Regions from separate parts of the Homo sapiens genome. Here regions 2 and 3 are each linked to region 1. The links are contacts of gene promoters, found by promoter capture Hi-C in blood cells and fetal thymus (Javierre and others, 2016). All regions are on one chromosome and are shown on one strand. Each heading gives the region's core, a stretch centred on a gene start or on the middle of the fragment in contact. The rest is flanking DNA. Distances are from core to core; before and after follow the strand shown. Region 1 holds the start of CD63 (CD63 molecule). Region 2 overlaps ZC3H10 (zinc finger CCCH-type containing 10). Region 3 overlaps RAB5B (RAB5B, member RAS oncogene family).

What was found. The method cuts DNA at HindIII sites, captures the fragments that hold promoters and counts their contacts. A CHiCAGO score of 5 or more calls a contact.
Region 2: a fragment that was not itself captured here is called in contact with the fragment with the promoter of CD63 in region 1 in 1 of 17 cell types (fetal thymus); the score reaches 5.5 in fetal thymus.
Region 3: a contact is called between a fragment that was not itself captured here and the fragment with the promoter of CD63 in region 1, in 1 of 17 cell types (naive CD4 T cells). The highest score is 5.1, in naive CD4 T cells.

The regions. Positions count from the first base shown.
Region 1 is chr12:55,727,759-55,732,210 of GRCh38, forward strand. It overlaps CD63 (CD63 molecule), which reads right to left and starts at 1,251. Exons shown (of 8, transcript NM_001780.6): 1 at 1,195-1,251; 2 at 518-594. The coding sequence starts at 583. CD63-AS1 (CD63 antisense RNA 1) reads left to right here and starts at 1,336. Exons shown (of 2, transcript NR_183514.1): 1 at 1,336-1,597; 2 at 1,904-3,094. RefSeq lists silencers at 648-947, 1,218-1,597 and an enhancer at 1,077-1,683. The HindIII fragment of the contact is 20,987 bases long and covers 1-4,452 here.
Region 2 is chr12:56,120,776-56,125,227 of GRCh38, forward strand. ZC3H10 (zinc finger CCCH-type containing 10) reads left to right here. Exons shown (of 3, transcript NM_032786.3): 3 at 1-4,452. The coding sequence ends at 1,092. Among named protein-coding and RNA genes, the nearest start is that of ZC3H10, 4.7 kb to the left of the region's middle. RefSeq lists an enhancer at 380-1,377. The HindIII fragment of the contact is 713 bases long and covers 1,912-2,624 here.
Region 3 is chr12:55,985,358-55,989,809 of GRCh38, forward strand. It overlaps RAB5B (RAB5B, member RAS oncogene family), which reads left to right. Exons shown (of 6, transcript NM_002868.4): 2 at 1,512-1,766. The coding sequence starts at 1,604. Among named protein-coding and RNA genes, the nearest start is that of SUOX, 9.7 kb to the right of the region's middle. The HindIII fragment of the contact is 3,073 bases long and covers 481-3,553 here.

The DNA.
Region 1 (4,452 bases), core at 1-2,500:
GGAAAAGGGAGCAAGAGTGATGTGTCCCTCCCTAGACAAACAGTAGCCTCTCAAGCCAGGAGCCCAGGGCAGGAGCAAATTGAAGTGGGCAGAGCCCTTCCTCACCCCCAAGCGCTGGGAGGAGGGAAAGGGGGAGAGGGGCTGGACAGGGATGAGAGGGTTGGGGAGGGAGAGAGGGGAGAAGGGAGAGCGAAGGGAAGCCCCATGGCGATAGCATCAGGCGGTTGGCTGGTTGCCCCACTGCCCCATATCACAAGTGGTTGGGTCACCAGACAGGAAGGGCCAGGAGGGATGGGGGTAGGGGTTGCTGCACACCCAGGATGGCCATTCTCGGTGGAAACAAGCCTCAGGTGTCCAGGAAAACTGGAGGAGGGAGTGGCTGCGCTGTCTTTCCCTGGCTTTCTTTCCACATCTGGTCTCCAGCTGCCTTAATTCTCATTCCCTCAGCCCTCACCACTGTGGAGCCAGGTCTCCCCGCACCCTGCCGGCGCGCCCCCCAGGACCCCTCGCCACTCACGCAAAAGGCCAGCAGGAGGACGTAGAGCAAGAACTTCACACATTTCATTCCTCCTTCCACCGCCATGGCTGCCGGGCCTGGGGCAGAGGGGAGGGCGGGGGGATTAAAACTGGCCGAAGGGGGACCTCGGTTTCCGGGCTCCCGGCCGGCCCTCGAGGGCTTCCCTTCACGGCCCCGATTCCCGGCCCCTCCCACCCGGAAACCCGCGGTCGGATCCACGTCTCCCAGCCCCCTCTTTACCCGCAGGAGAGGGGTGGGGGCGACGGCCGCGAAGCCCGGACCCCGCCCCGCCGCCTCTGGGGCCCAGGACAGATCCAAGGGCGCCGGCAGGGGCTTGAGCCTGACGCCGACCCTCGGCCCGCCAGTCTCCGGGCGTCAAACACCCTTTCCCCACCCAACACCCAGCCTGGAGAAACGGTCTTCAGCCCAACCCCGACCCCCGCCCCAGCCCCTTTCCCCTGGGCTCTGACCTCCCCGCCCACCAAAAAAAAAAAAAGTGCAGCCAGCACCCCCGCCACACCCTGCCCGGGCCCAGGGAACTTCGAAGCAAAGTTGCTCCAGGGCGGCTGGAGAGCGCCGGACGAGTCTCCGCGGGCCTGGGGCGAGCCCTGGAGGAAGGGACTGCGGGTGGTCTCTCCCAGCCCGCGCCGAAGTCCGCCGGGTCCCCGCGGCCTCACCTGGGCTTCCCAAGGCTGGCTGCGCGTTCCTCTCCCGCCGCGGCTCCGGGGCTCTCTAGCTGCGCCCCCCGGCTCCCGCCCCGCCTGCCGCGCGGCCCCGCCCCGGGCTCCAGCCACGGTCCCCTCCCCCGCCGAGTGGCCGCCGGCCTCCCTCATGTGACGCGGTAACAGCTGCGGCCTGAGTCACTGGGCCCGGCGCGGGGTGGGCCGAGCCCCCCGCCCGGCCAGGGCCACGTGGCCCCTACCCGGAAGAAGGCGCCCACCCCCGCAAAGGGAAAGCCGCAAGGGCAAGACCTCGGGGCGCCTGGGGCCCCCCTCTGGCGCTATACCTCCGTGCCAACTCGGGGTAGGAGAGCGGGGCGGAGCGCAGCCTGGGTCACTCTGGTTCAGAGAAGCGGACGAGGTGGGTGAGAGTTACCCTCTGAGCGCCGGGGCGGAGAGCTGAGGCCGGGTGACAATGTGGTCTGTGAGGTTTCCCCATCCTACCGTAGGGGATGAGCCAGCTCTCTCCTCTGGCTCCAACTCTGTGCAAGCCCCCTCCCCATCCGACTGTGCAGACAGCTGGGGACTGCCTGGGGTCGGGTGGGGCCAGAACAAACACTTCCAGAAAGTCCCTGGCTCACATCCTGGGTGTCTCCCAACATTCTACAGCATTCTAGAGTGGGGATTTCTGGCCCCCCTCTATTAGCACAGCTTCTCCATTTTCCAGGGATCCTAGTCTGAGAAAAGGGGAGGAAGCCCTTCCCCGAAGCCACGCTACCCAGTCAATCAAGACACGTCCGCGTCGGGTCCCGCCCTCTGGGGGAGGATTGACAAGGTCTGTGCTTCCAGCCTCCCAGACAGCTCCTGCATCCGTCTGTGATAGCGAGGGCTTGGGGGAAGACACGAAGGCAGGAGAGGCTTACATCCTCTGGATTTCCCCGTCTTATCCCAGAAGACAAAGCCAGGTGAGGGCTGGAAGCGGGCTAGGGGGATCAAGCTGCCTCCCTCCCTTGTGTGCCAGGGGTGGTCCCCAGAAGGAGCTGATCTGAACAGGCCGGAGAGTAGGACCGGCCGTCACACCCCCACACCTCCAGCCTCGGCCCCACTCCTTGGGCTCTTAAGGTCCTGCCTCAAGAACCACTTCCTGAGTCTTAGTGTATGTGTGTACACAAAGAATGAAAGAAGTCTCTAGAGCTAAAGGAAGGAGATCCGGGCTGGGCTGAGAAGCATCTTCCAGGATCACGGCCTTCCCGCGGGACACACCAAGCCCATTCCGGATCTTGCTCTTCCTGACCATGGCTGGCAGGCTGTGGAGGAGGAGCGGAGAGCAGAAGAAAGGAGTATTCATCAGGTTCCTTATTGTGCTGCCACTAGATGCCAGGCATGTGCTAGGCTTGGGGGCTGCAAGGAGAGGAAGACAGCGGCCCTGCCCTCTGCTAGCAGGCAGAACCGAGTTCTGGCCACACTGTGAAGAAAGGCAGAAGCCTGCGGTGGCAGCTGGTTAAGCTCAGAGGGAGGGAAAGGGAGAGGAGAATGGATTTCACGGAGCAGAAGGATGTGCTCAAGGTGACCTTGGAGAATAAAGGGGAGAGCTCCAGGGACAGAGAAGCAGTCGACTGTGGAAAAAAAAGGAGCATTTTGTAAAGTACATGGCAGGTTGGGGTTGGCTGGCTCAAAGGGCTTGGGACGGATGTGGTGAGATGGGCTGAAGGTGGTCTGAAGATCAAGATTGAGAGACTAGATACATAACAACCAACTGCAATGTTTGGTCCTTCATTGAATGGTTGAACAAACCAGCTGTGAAAGACATTTTGGGACATACAGACATGGACTGAGAATTAGACATAAGAAAATTATTTTGTTAACTGTTATCATGGTTAACAAAACGGTCATATAATATGATTATGTAGAGAAGTTACTCTAGTTTTTCCTCTTTTTTTTTCTTTATTCTCCTATCAGCCAATGCATTTGTTACAGGAAAGGGGTCCCAATCCAGACCACAAGAGAGGGTTCTTGGATCTCATGCAAGAAAGATTCAGGGCGAGTCGCAGTGCAAAGTATAAGCAAGTTTATTAAGAAAGTAAAGTGGTGAAACAACAGCTGCTCCATAGACAGAGTAGGATGTTCCCCAAAGTAAGAGGAGGGGCTAGGCGCAGTGGCTCACCACACCTGTAATCCCAGCATTTTGGGAGGCCTAGGCAGGTGGATCACCTGAGGTCAGGAGTTCGAGACCAGCCTGGCCAACACGGTGAAACCCCGTCTCTACTAAAAATACAAAAAGTAGCTGGGCACAATGATGTGTGCCTGTAGTCCCAGCTACTCAGGAGGCTGAGGCAGGAGAATCACTTGAACCCAGGAGGCAGAGGTTGCAGTGAGCAGAGATCGTGTTGCTGCATGCCATCCTGGGCAACAAGAGTGAAACTCCGTCTCTCTTTTTTTTTTTTTTTTTTTTGAGACGGAGTCTCGCTCTGTCACCAGGGTGGAGTGCAGTGGTGCCATCTTGGCTCACTGCAACCTCCGCCTCCCGTGTTCAAGTGATTCTCCTGCCTCAGCCTCCCAAGTAGCTGGGACTACAGGCACGCACCACTACGCCCAGCTAATTTTTGTGTTTTTAGTAGAGATGGGGTTTCACCATATTGGCCAGGATGGTCTCCATCTATTGACCTCGTGATCCGCCCCCTCAGCCTTCCAAAGTGCTGGGATTACAGGCGTGAGCCACTGTGCCCGGCAAAACTCTGTCTCAAAAAAAAAAAGTAAGAGGAGGAACACATTCACCCTCGGTATAATGCTTGTATATATGGAGAGATGTGCTCTGCTACAAAAGTTTGTGATAAAGGATTAATTTTCTTAATTACTGTATTTTGTAAGAATCGATATTATCTTTTTTATTATTATTAATTTGTTTCCTTAACCATAAACATCTAGGTTTTTTGTTTTTGTTTTTGTTTTTGAGATGGAGTTTTGCTCTTGTTGCCCAGGCTGGAGTGCAGTGGCACAACTCACCACAACCTCTGCCTCCCAGGTTCAAGAGATTCTCCTGCCTCAGCCTCCTGAGTAGCCGGGATTACAGGCATGCGCCACCATGCCTGGATAATTTTGTATTTTTAGTAGAGCCGATATTGTGCCATTGCACTCCAGCCTGGGCAACAGAGCGAGACTCTGTCTCAAAGAAAAAGAAAGAAAGATGAAAATGTTGTGGAGATGGATGGTGCTGATGGTTGCACAATGTGTATGTACTCAATGTCCCTGAATTTTATGTTATATATATTTTACTAC
Region 2 (4,452 bases), core at 1,018-3,517, 390 kb after region 1:
AGCAAAAACGAGTTCATCTTCTGCCATGACTTCCAGAACAAGGAGTGTAGCCGCCCAAATTGCCGTTTCATCCATGGCTCCAAGGAGGATGAGGATGGCTATAAGAAGACAGGAGAGCTTCCCCCACGGCTGAGGCAGAAAGTAGCAGCTGGCCTTGGCCTTTCACCGGCTGACCTACCAAATGGCAAGGAGGAGGTCCCTATCTGCCGTGACTTTCTCAAGGGTGACTGTCAGAGAGGAGCCAAGTGCAAGTTCCGTCACCTGCAACGGGATTTTGAGTTTGATGCTCGGGGTGGAGGAGGCACTGGTGGGGGCTCAACAGGCTCAGTCCTCCCAGGACGACGTCATGATCTCTATGATATCTATGACCTTCCTGACAGGGGCTTTGAGGACCATGAGCCAGGCCCAAAACGCCGGCGAGGTGGATGCTGCCCCCCTGATGGCCCTCATTTTGAGTCATATGAATATAGTTTGGCTCCACCGCGAGGGGTGGAGTGCAGACTGCTAGAGGAGGAGAATGCCATGCTCAGGAAGCGGGTAGAGGAGTTAAAGAAGCAGGTCAGCAACCTGCTGGCCACCAATGAGGTACTACTGGAACAAAATGCTCAGTTCCGCAATCAGGCCAAGGTCATAACCCTGAGCTCCACTGCACCAGCGACTGAGCAGACTCTGGCCCCCACTGTGGGCACTGTTGCCACTTTTAACCATGGCATTGCCCAGACTCACACTACTCTCAGCAGCCAGGCTCTACAGCCTCGTCCAGTGTCCCAGCAAGAACTGGTGGCCCCTGCTGGAGCTCCAGCTGCTCCCCCAACTAATGCTGCACCTCCTGCTGCTCCACCACCCCCACCCCCACACTTGACCCCAGAGATCACGCCACTGTCAGCTGCCCTGGCTCAAACAATTGCCCAGGGAATGGCACCTCCACCTGTCTCCATGGCTCCTGTGGCTGTATCTGTGGCTCCTGTGGCCCCTGTGGCTGTATCGATGGCCCAACCCTTGGCAGGAATCACAATGAGCCACACCACCACTCCCATGGTGACTTACCCTATCGCTTCCCAGAGCATGCGCATCACGGCCATGCCACACTGATGGGGCTAATGGACACTCCCCTGGTATAGCCTCGCAGGGCTGGGGTCAGGGGGCCCTTGCCCACTCACCTAGCCTTCCCCATCCCTGTCTGAAGGGCTCCCTTGAGAACTAGGACAAGAGACTACAAGGAGTATGTCCTGAGGAGGGGTTGGGATGGTGTGTTTTCTCTCACCTCCCTTTTATGAGGGTCCTCTTGTCCATCTTCAAGCCTCACAGTGGGGGCTTGCAGAGGAGTGCAGACTGAAGCCAGCAGAGAGGAAGGACTGACTGAGGGGCTGTGTCCTCTTATGGGAATTTGGGAACATCCCTCGTCTTGTCCTCTCTTCTGCACAGCACAGGTTCCAGCACTGGTTTTAGAAGAAAAAAATACCCTGCCCAGAGGGAAAGCCAGGAAAGATTGGGAAGTGGGTGGTCAGGAGAGAAGGCCTGATAGGAGCCTTCAGACAATTTGGGTCCTAGTTGCTTGGGTTGGACAATACAGGAATTGCTTCTGGGCCCTGGGAAAGCTGGGACCATAGTGCTCCAGCCCAAAGACTAGGGGAGCATTCATTACCCTAGTTTGACCTGAAAATCCATAGGGCAGGGCCCACTACTTTCCAAAGAAATAAAAGAACAATTATTTTTAACAAATGGAGGCAGTGAAAACTTGCTTAGCTATTCTGTGTGGAAGATGGGAGCAGTAAATAGATCTCATGCCAAAATGGGATAAAGACCCCAGCCTCACATAGCTTTGGTAAGATGGATAGAAGCCAGTGAAGAAGGGTAGGGACCCAGAACAAGACCAAATGGGGCTTTGGGGAAGGCACTTTATGGGGTAAAAGCTTTGGAGCCACCCAGTCTAGTTTTAAAAATAGTCCCATCTGTTTCTGGTCTCTGTCTGTATGTGCTATTCCCAGGTTGCCTCAGTAACCAGGGCTCCTAGGGTCATTTAGCAGGGCAGGCAGTAAGGAGAGTGTATTTGCTGAAATGCGGATGGGATGTTACATAGTTGACAGATCCTTATTCAAACAGAGCAGGACAGGTGGAGTTGATGGCCATTGAGTTGATGGCAGTTGCCGCTCAGTTGATGGCAGTTAATGTCCCTCCTACCCCACCCCTTCAGTGGCCAGTTCCTGAAGCCTTCAAGGCTTGGGAGGTCTGGGAAAAGAGAGTCCTTCTAGGGACACAAGCCTCAGGGTCCATCCCTTTCCTCTGTCTCCACATAGGACCAGAAGTTTTAAATCTACTTAAGTCAGTAAGGCCAGGGGCCCCAATAGTCAAACCTCAGTTCCTCCTCAGCTCACGGCTGATGTAGGGAAAACAACTCAGGTGTCTAGTCTAATGGGACAGTAGATTTGGGGGTAGAGAGTGATCCTGGATTGTGTTCCCCCTCATCATGTCTCCTGCTACCTCTTGCTTTCTTGTCTGGTTGATCACTCAGGTCACATCTGGGATTGGAGATGGTGGGCTAGGTCAAGGCCAGTCATTAAAAAAAAAAGCCTAAAGACTAAAAGTGGGCTAACATTGTGGATTTTAGAAACAACACATTGATAAGCTTAATGTTTTTTGGGACACAATTTTTTTTTTTTTTTTTGAGATGGAGTCTTGCCCAGTCACCAGACCGGAGTGCAGTGGCGCAATCTCGGTTCACTGTAACCTGCGCCTCCTGGGTTCAAGCGATTCTCTTGCGTCAGCCTCCCGAGTAGCTGAGACTACAGGCGCCCGCCACCACGCCCGGCTAATTTTTTTATTTTTAGTAGAGACGGGGTTTCATCGTGTTGGCCAGAATGGTCTCTATCTCTCGTGATCCGCCCGCCTCAGCCTCCCAAAGTGCTGGGATTACAGGCATGAACCACCGTGCCCGGCAATTCTAGACTATTAAAAGAGATGGTTTAAGAGCATTTAGAGAAGAATGTAACCATAGATACCAACATGAATTCTCAGTCAAATCCTGACTGACTTTATTTCCTCCTTGCCAGGTTATCTCCAAAGAGGTAGATTTGGGAAATTTTAGACATTGTATGTCTTGTATGTATTTACTCCAGCTGAAGACCACCAAGAATACACCTGGTAATTGAGCAAGTTGGGTTTAATGCTCATTGCAGTGAGGGGGAGGGCTCACCATTGGGGATAACGTGGTGTGTCTCAGCATGAGGGTGTTAGGAACGACTTAGAGAACTTAGACTTTGGTTAAGTGATTTTGGGGAAGATTCAAGAAAGTGGGTGTTCTTTTGGATTGGGTGCTGTTAAGGGAATCCAGGATAATTGGGTAGCTTGTCTAGAAGAAGGGCAGACAAGTGAACCTAAGCACAGTCGATGATGAAGTCACTCACTAGCTGGGAAAGGGGATGTTTGCTGTTTTGTGGTTTGCACACTGACCTTGTTTTGTGCTTAAACAAAATTGTGTAGTGATTTTGTTTTTTGTCTCACTTCATCGCAGTCACTGAGTGACCTTGTCTGATGCTGGTGTTTTGTGAGATTGTTTGTGTCCAAGAGAACTCATTGGCTACCTGTGAGCACCAGGTCAGCCCTAACAGCTCTGAAGCCTGGCTGTGTCAGGCCAGTTCCCAGATTACAGGAGCTACTTTCCTCTCTCTCACCTGCTAAGTCATCACAGATAAGAGGAAAATTACGGGTCAGTTAATCGTAGCATTTTTTCCATGCAAATGGCTCTGGTTAAAAAATAATGAGAAAAAAATAGTAGCATTTGGTAGAATCAAACTGAACACTTGTACTTAGTGTTGGTTAGCGCATTTATGTTAGAGAAATCTCTGTTCTCTAGTGATAAGCCCAAGGGCTATGTTTTATTGTAAAAAGAAAAAACCCAACTCGGGTAAACATGTAAAAAACCCATTTATCAACAGTAACACAGGAAGAGCTAAATAATATTCAAAGTGTCTGTAACTTGAATTGACTAAAACACTGGAGCACTCTCACACTAAAAAATTGCTTAGATCTTGAACTAGTTTGAGGAACAATGTTAGAGATTTATATTAGCAATAATTCACATGAGAACAAACTGGGACTTCCAGTTGGCTGCAAAAAAATAGAATCTTAGCCCTCAAGATGTCCATTTATAAATATTTATTAAGAGCCTGCTATGTTCTAGGCATCTTTCTAGGAGCTCCATAAGGGTAGTAGAACCTTGGTAATAGATTACAAATACAGCAGTTCTATGTTCTGCCTAAGTGTAACCACTTAGTAGTGTGTTGTTCTAAATGTAATTTTTAAAGAGGGCCATTGACAAACCAGTGTGTTGCTAGAAAAAAAAGGCTGGCAAGAGAAAGCTTCAAATAGAAGTCTTCAAATATTTGAAGGGCTGCCCAGTGGAGGAAGATCCTGTTTGCTACACAGGAAGTAAAAAGGGATTTCTAGAATAAT
Region 3 (4,452 bases), core at 767-3,266, 260 kb after region 1:
ATGTCTGTGAAGTCACTAGGATCTGCTTTGGAAAAGCGAAAGAGTAATTTGAACAAGCAAAGTACAACTCTCAAGCAATGCTTAGGTTTGGGAGAGAGGTTTTTGCATGCTCTGCCTATGCTAACTTCCCTTTGAATTTCATAGTTCCTTTCCGCTCAGAGTCAGGATGATGAAATGTATTCAGATTTAGACGATTAGAATCTCAAAGTCCCAACTCTTCTCTCTGTTCCCTGCCCCACCAGCAGCTTTCTTAGCCCTCTTAGAAGATAGAGGAGCTGATTCAGTGTATTCTTTCATCAAATACTGATTGCTTGCAGACTTAACGCCCTATACCATCCTCTGGAGACTTCTGCATGTCTTTAGAAGGTATACCTTTCTCTGCCTCTAATTTGGAGGGCTACAGCTGTTAGGCCCCTTTGGTGTGGAGGGTAATCTAATCCCTAGGCACCAGCAAGACAGCTGCAAGTTGAGAGTAGGTCAAGCTTACTGATTCTTGATAGACTTTCAGATTTGGAAAGATGGCAGAAACAAAGTGAAAAAAGAGTTGTTAATGAAACAAAGAGTTGATAATGAATGTGATCTGTTGGTTGTATTTCTCTCTTTACCTTCAACCAAAAATGAGAAAGGATAGATTTTGTGGCAATGGGACCCTGGTTAGATCTTTAGAAATGTCTTATCAGGGAGACCGGTCATATATAAAGGATACAGCAGCAACTACCCTTCTGCCCTTAGGAGTGGTGACTCTTATCCCACACCCCTAGAGTGAATCTCTCATTTTGACAAAGAGCTAAGGAAAAATGAAAAGAAGGCCAGGCACGGTGGCTCATGCCTGTAATATCAGCACTTTGGAAGGCCAAGGCGGGCAGATCACCTGAGGTCAGGACTTCTTAGACTAGTCTGACCAACATGGAGAAACTCCGTCTCTACTAAAAATACAAAATTAGCCAGGCGTGGTGGTGCATGCCTGTAATCCCAGCTACTCGGGAGACTGAGGTGGGAGAATTGCTTGAACCCGGGAGGCAGAGGTTGTGGTGAGCCAAGATTGTGCCATTGCACTCCAGCCTGGGCAACAAGAGTGACGTCTCAAAAAAAAAGAAGAAAAGGAAAAGAAGAGCACAGCACCAGGATGCCAAGGAGATACTGGGGATCTAGGGTACCGGTGGGTGGATCTGGATATTCTTCAGGCCAGCTAAAGGTTGATCACTTTGTGTGACTCAAACAAAAAACTTTGAAGACCTGGTGGGGAATTACTGGGGAATTAAAAACTCTCAGTTTTCAGTCTCTCTATTTCGGCTCCCTTGGCAGTTAGAGATTATGTGGTAGGGCAGACTCCAGAAGCAGTTCTTATTTTGCTCTTCCCAACTCTTACCACTGAGGATCAGCTGCCTGGGACCTTCTCAGAGCTAAGTCCTCATAGAAGCAAGGAGATGAAGAGGTTCTATCCTTCTCTGAAAAGCGATTGCAGCTTCAATGGACGTATGTTTAATTTTATTCACTTTTTTTTCTTGCAGGAGTGTTGAAGCCTGGAAATCCCCTCCCCTTCCCCCTCCCCCCTTTACAGTATCCCCCTCCCTCCACCCTTTCCCATTCTGATAATCTGGCCATGACTAGCAGAAGCACAGCTAGGCCCAATGGGCAACCCCAGGCCAGCAAAATTTGCCAGTTCAAATTGGTCCTGCTGGGAGAATCTGCAGTGGGAAAGTCAAGCCTGGTATTACGTTTTGTCAAAGGGCAGTTCCATGAGTACCAGGAGAGCACCATTGGAGGTGAGTGCCTTGGGGTAATAGGAGATTGAATGTTTGGTAAGGGTTTTTTTTTTTTTAGATGGAGTCTTGCTCTGTTACCCAGGCTGGAGTGCAGTGGCGCAATCTTGGCTTACTGCAACCTCTGTCTCCCAGGTTCGAGCGATTCTCATGCCTCAGCCTCCCGAGTAACTGGGATTACAGGTGCACACCGTGGCACCTGTCTAATTTTTGTATTTTTAGTGGAGAGGGGGTTTCACCATCATGTTGGCCAGGTTGGTCTCAAACTCCTGACCTCAGGTGATCTGCCTGCCTCGGCCTCCCAAAGTGCTGGGATTACAGGCGTGAGTCACCACGCCGGGCCGGTAAGGCTTTTGAAAAGAGATATAAGACCTGATTATGGAGCTGGCCCTCTTAGTCCCATTCTTTTCCCCAGAAATGGAAACCCTTTATAAAAACAGAGGCCGGTCCCAGTGGCCCACCACTTTGGGAGGCCAAGATGGGCGGATCACCTGAGGTCAGGAGTTCGAGACCAGCCTGCCCAACATGGCGAAATCCTGTCTCTACTAAAAATACAAAAAATTAGCCAGGCGTGGTGGCAGGCGCCTGTAATCCCAGCTACTCGGGAGGCTAAGGCAGGAGAATCACTTGAACCCAGGGGGCAGAGGTTGTAGTGAGCCGAGATTGCGCCACTGCACTCCACCCTGGGCGACAAGAGCAAAACTCCATCTCCAAAAAAAAAAAAAAATCAAAATCTGGTAAAATAGGCTGGGCATGGTGGGTCACACCTGTAATCCCAGCATTTGGGAGGCCAAGGCAGGCGGATCACTTGAGGCCAGGAGTTCAAGACCAGCCTGGCCAACAAGGTGAAATCCCCGTCTCTACTAAAAATACAAAAAATTAGCTGGGCGTGGTGGCACATGCCTATAATTCCAGCTACTCAGGAGGCTGAGGTAGGAGAACTACTTGAACCCAGGAGATGGAGGTTGCAGTGAGCCAAGATTGCGCCATTGCACTCCAGCCTGGGTGACTAGAGTGAAAATCCGTCTCAAAAAAACAAAACAACAACAACAACAACAAAGATTAGCCGGGCATGGTGGCACATGCCTGTAATCCCAGCTACTTGGGAAGCTGAGGCAGGAGACTCGCTTGAACTCATGAGGCGGAGGTTGCAGTGAGCCAAAATCACGCCAGTGCATTTTATCCTAGGCGAAGGAGCGAGACTGTTTCAAAAACAAAAAAAAATCTGGTAAAATAGAGGCTGGAACTAATGCAAAATACAAAGGGTGTCTGTCTTTCTCATCTTTGCTACCTTTTCCCCACTACTACCCCAAAATAGGGTGCTAATTCAATAAAGGATCTTTTATGAGAACTTCCAAATTATTCCTTCCCCTTGTTATTTTTATTTATTTATTTATTTATTTTTGAGACGGAGTCTCTGTCGCCCAGACTGGAGTGCAGTGGTGCAATCTTGGCTCATTGCAACTTCTGCCTCCCAGGTTCAAGTGATTCTCGTGCCTCAGCCTCCTGAGCAGCGGAGATTACAGGCACATACCACCATGCCCGGCTAATTTTTGTATTTGTATAGAGACAGGGTTTCACCGTGTTGGCCAGGCTGGTCTCAAACTCCTGACTTCAAGTGATCCACCCGCCTCGGCCTCCCAAAGTGCTGGGATTACAAGCATGAGCCACCGTGCCTGGCCTCTTTCCCCTTTTTATTAGTCATCTTGGAAATGTATTCCTGGACCTGCAGCAGATTATATGAAAAAGTAACAGCCAAATAATATTGATAATGATGGGACTTGCCATCAAGCTTTAAAATCTTCTAATTAATTCTTTTTTTTTTTTTTTTTTTTTTTGGATACTGAGTCTCACCCTGTTGCCCAGGCTGGAGTGCAGTGGTGCAGTGGTTGCCCATTGCAACTTCCGCTTCCCCAGTTCAAGCACTTCTGCTGCCTCAGCCTCCCAAGTAGCTGGAATTACAGGCGTCCATCACCATGCCTGGTTAACTTTTGTGTTTTTAGTAGAGGCGGGGTTTCACTATGTTGGCCAGGCTGGTCTCGAACTCCTGACCTCAAGCCATCCACCTGCCTTGGCCTCCCAAAGTGCTGGGATTACAGGCATGAGCCACTGCGCCCAGCCAATCCTCTAATTAATTCTTTTGTTTGTTTGCGTTTGTTTGTTTGTTTTTTGAGACGGAGTTCCGCTCTTGTTGCCCAGGCTGAAGTGCAGTGGCGCCATCTTGGCTCACTGCAACCTCCACCTCCCAAGTTCAAGGGATTCTCCAGCCTCAGCCTCCCGAGTAGCTGTGATTACAGGTGTCCACCACCACGCCTGGCTAATTTTTGTATTTTTAGTAGAGACGGGTTTTGCCGTGTTGGCCAGACTGGTCTCGAACTCCTGACCTCAGGTGATCCACCTGCCTCAGCCCCCACCTCCCAAAGTGCTGGGATTACAGGCGTGAGCTACCGTGCCCAGCCCAATCTTCTAATTAATTCTTGATGTGACTTTTATCTGAAGCTATTTTCTCTGTCATTTGTTATTCTCCTATTTTGGTTAGAAGAAGGATGACTCGTATAAGTGCCAGTTCTTCTGTCCCTCTTAGTTTATGATGTACCCCCATTCCTTAGCTAGTGACATTTCTGGCAGGAAGGACTTAGCCAAGGGCAGTCTTAATCCTGGTTTCAAGACTTACATGTAAGGAGAACTC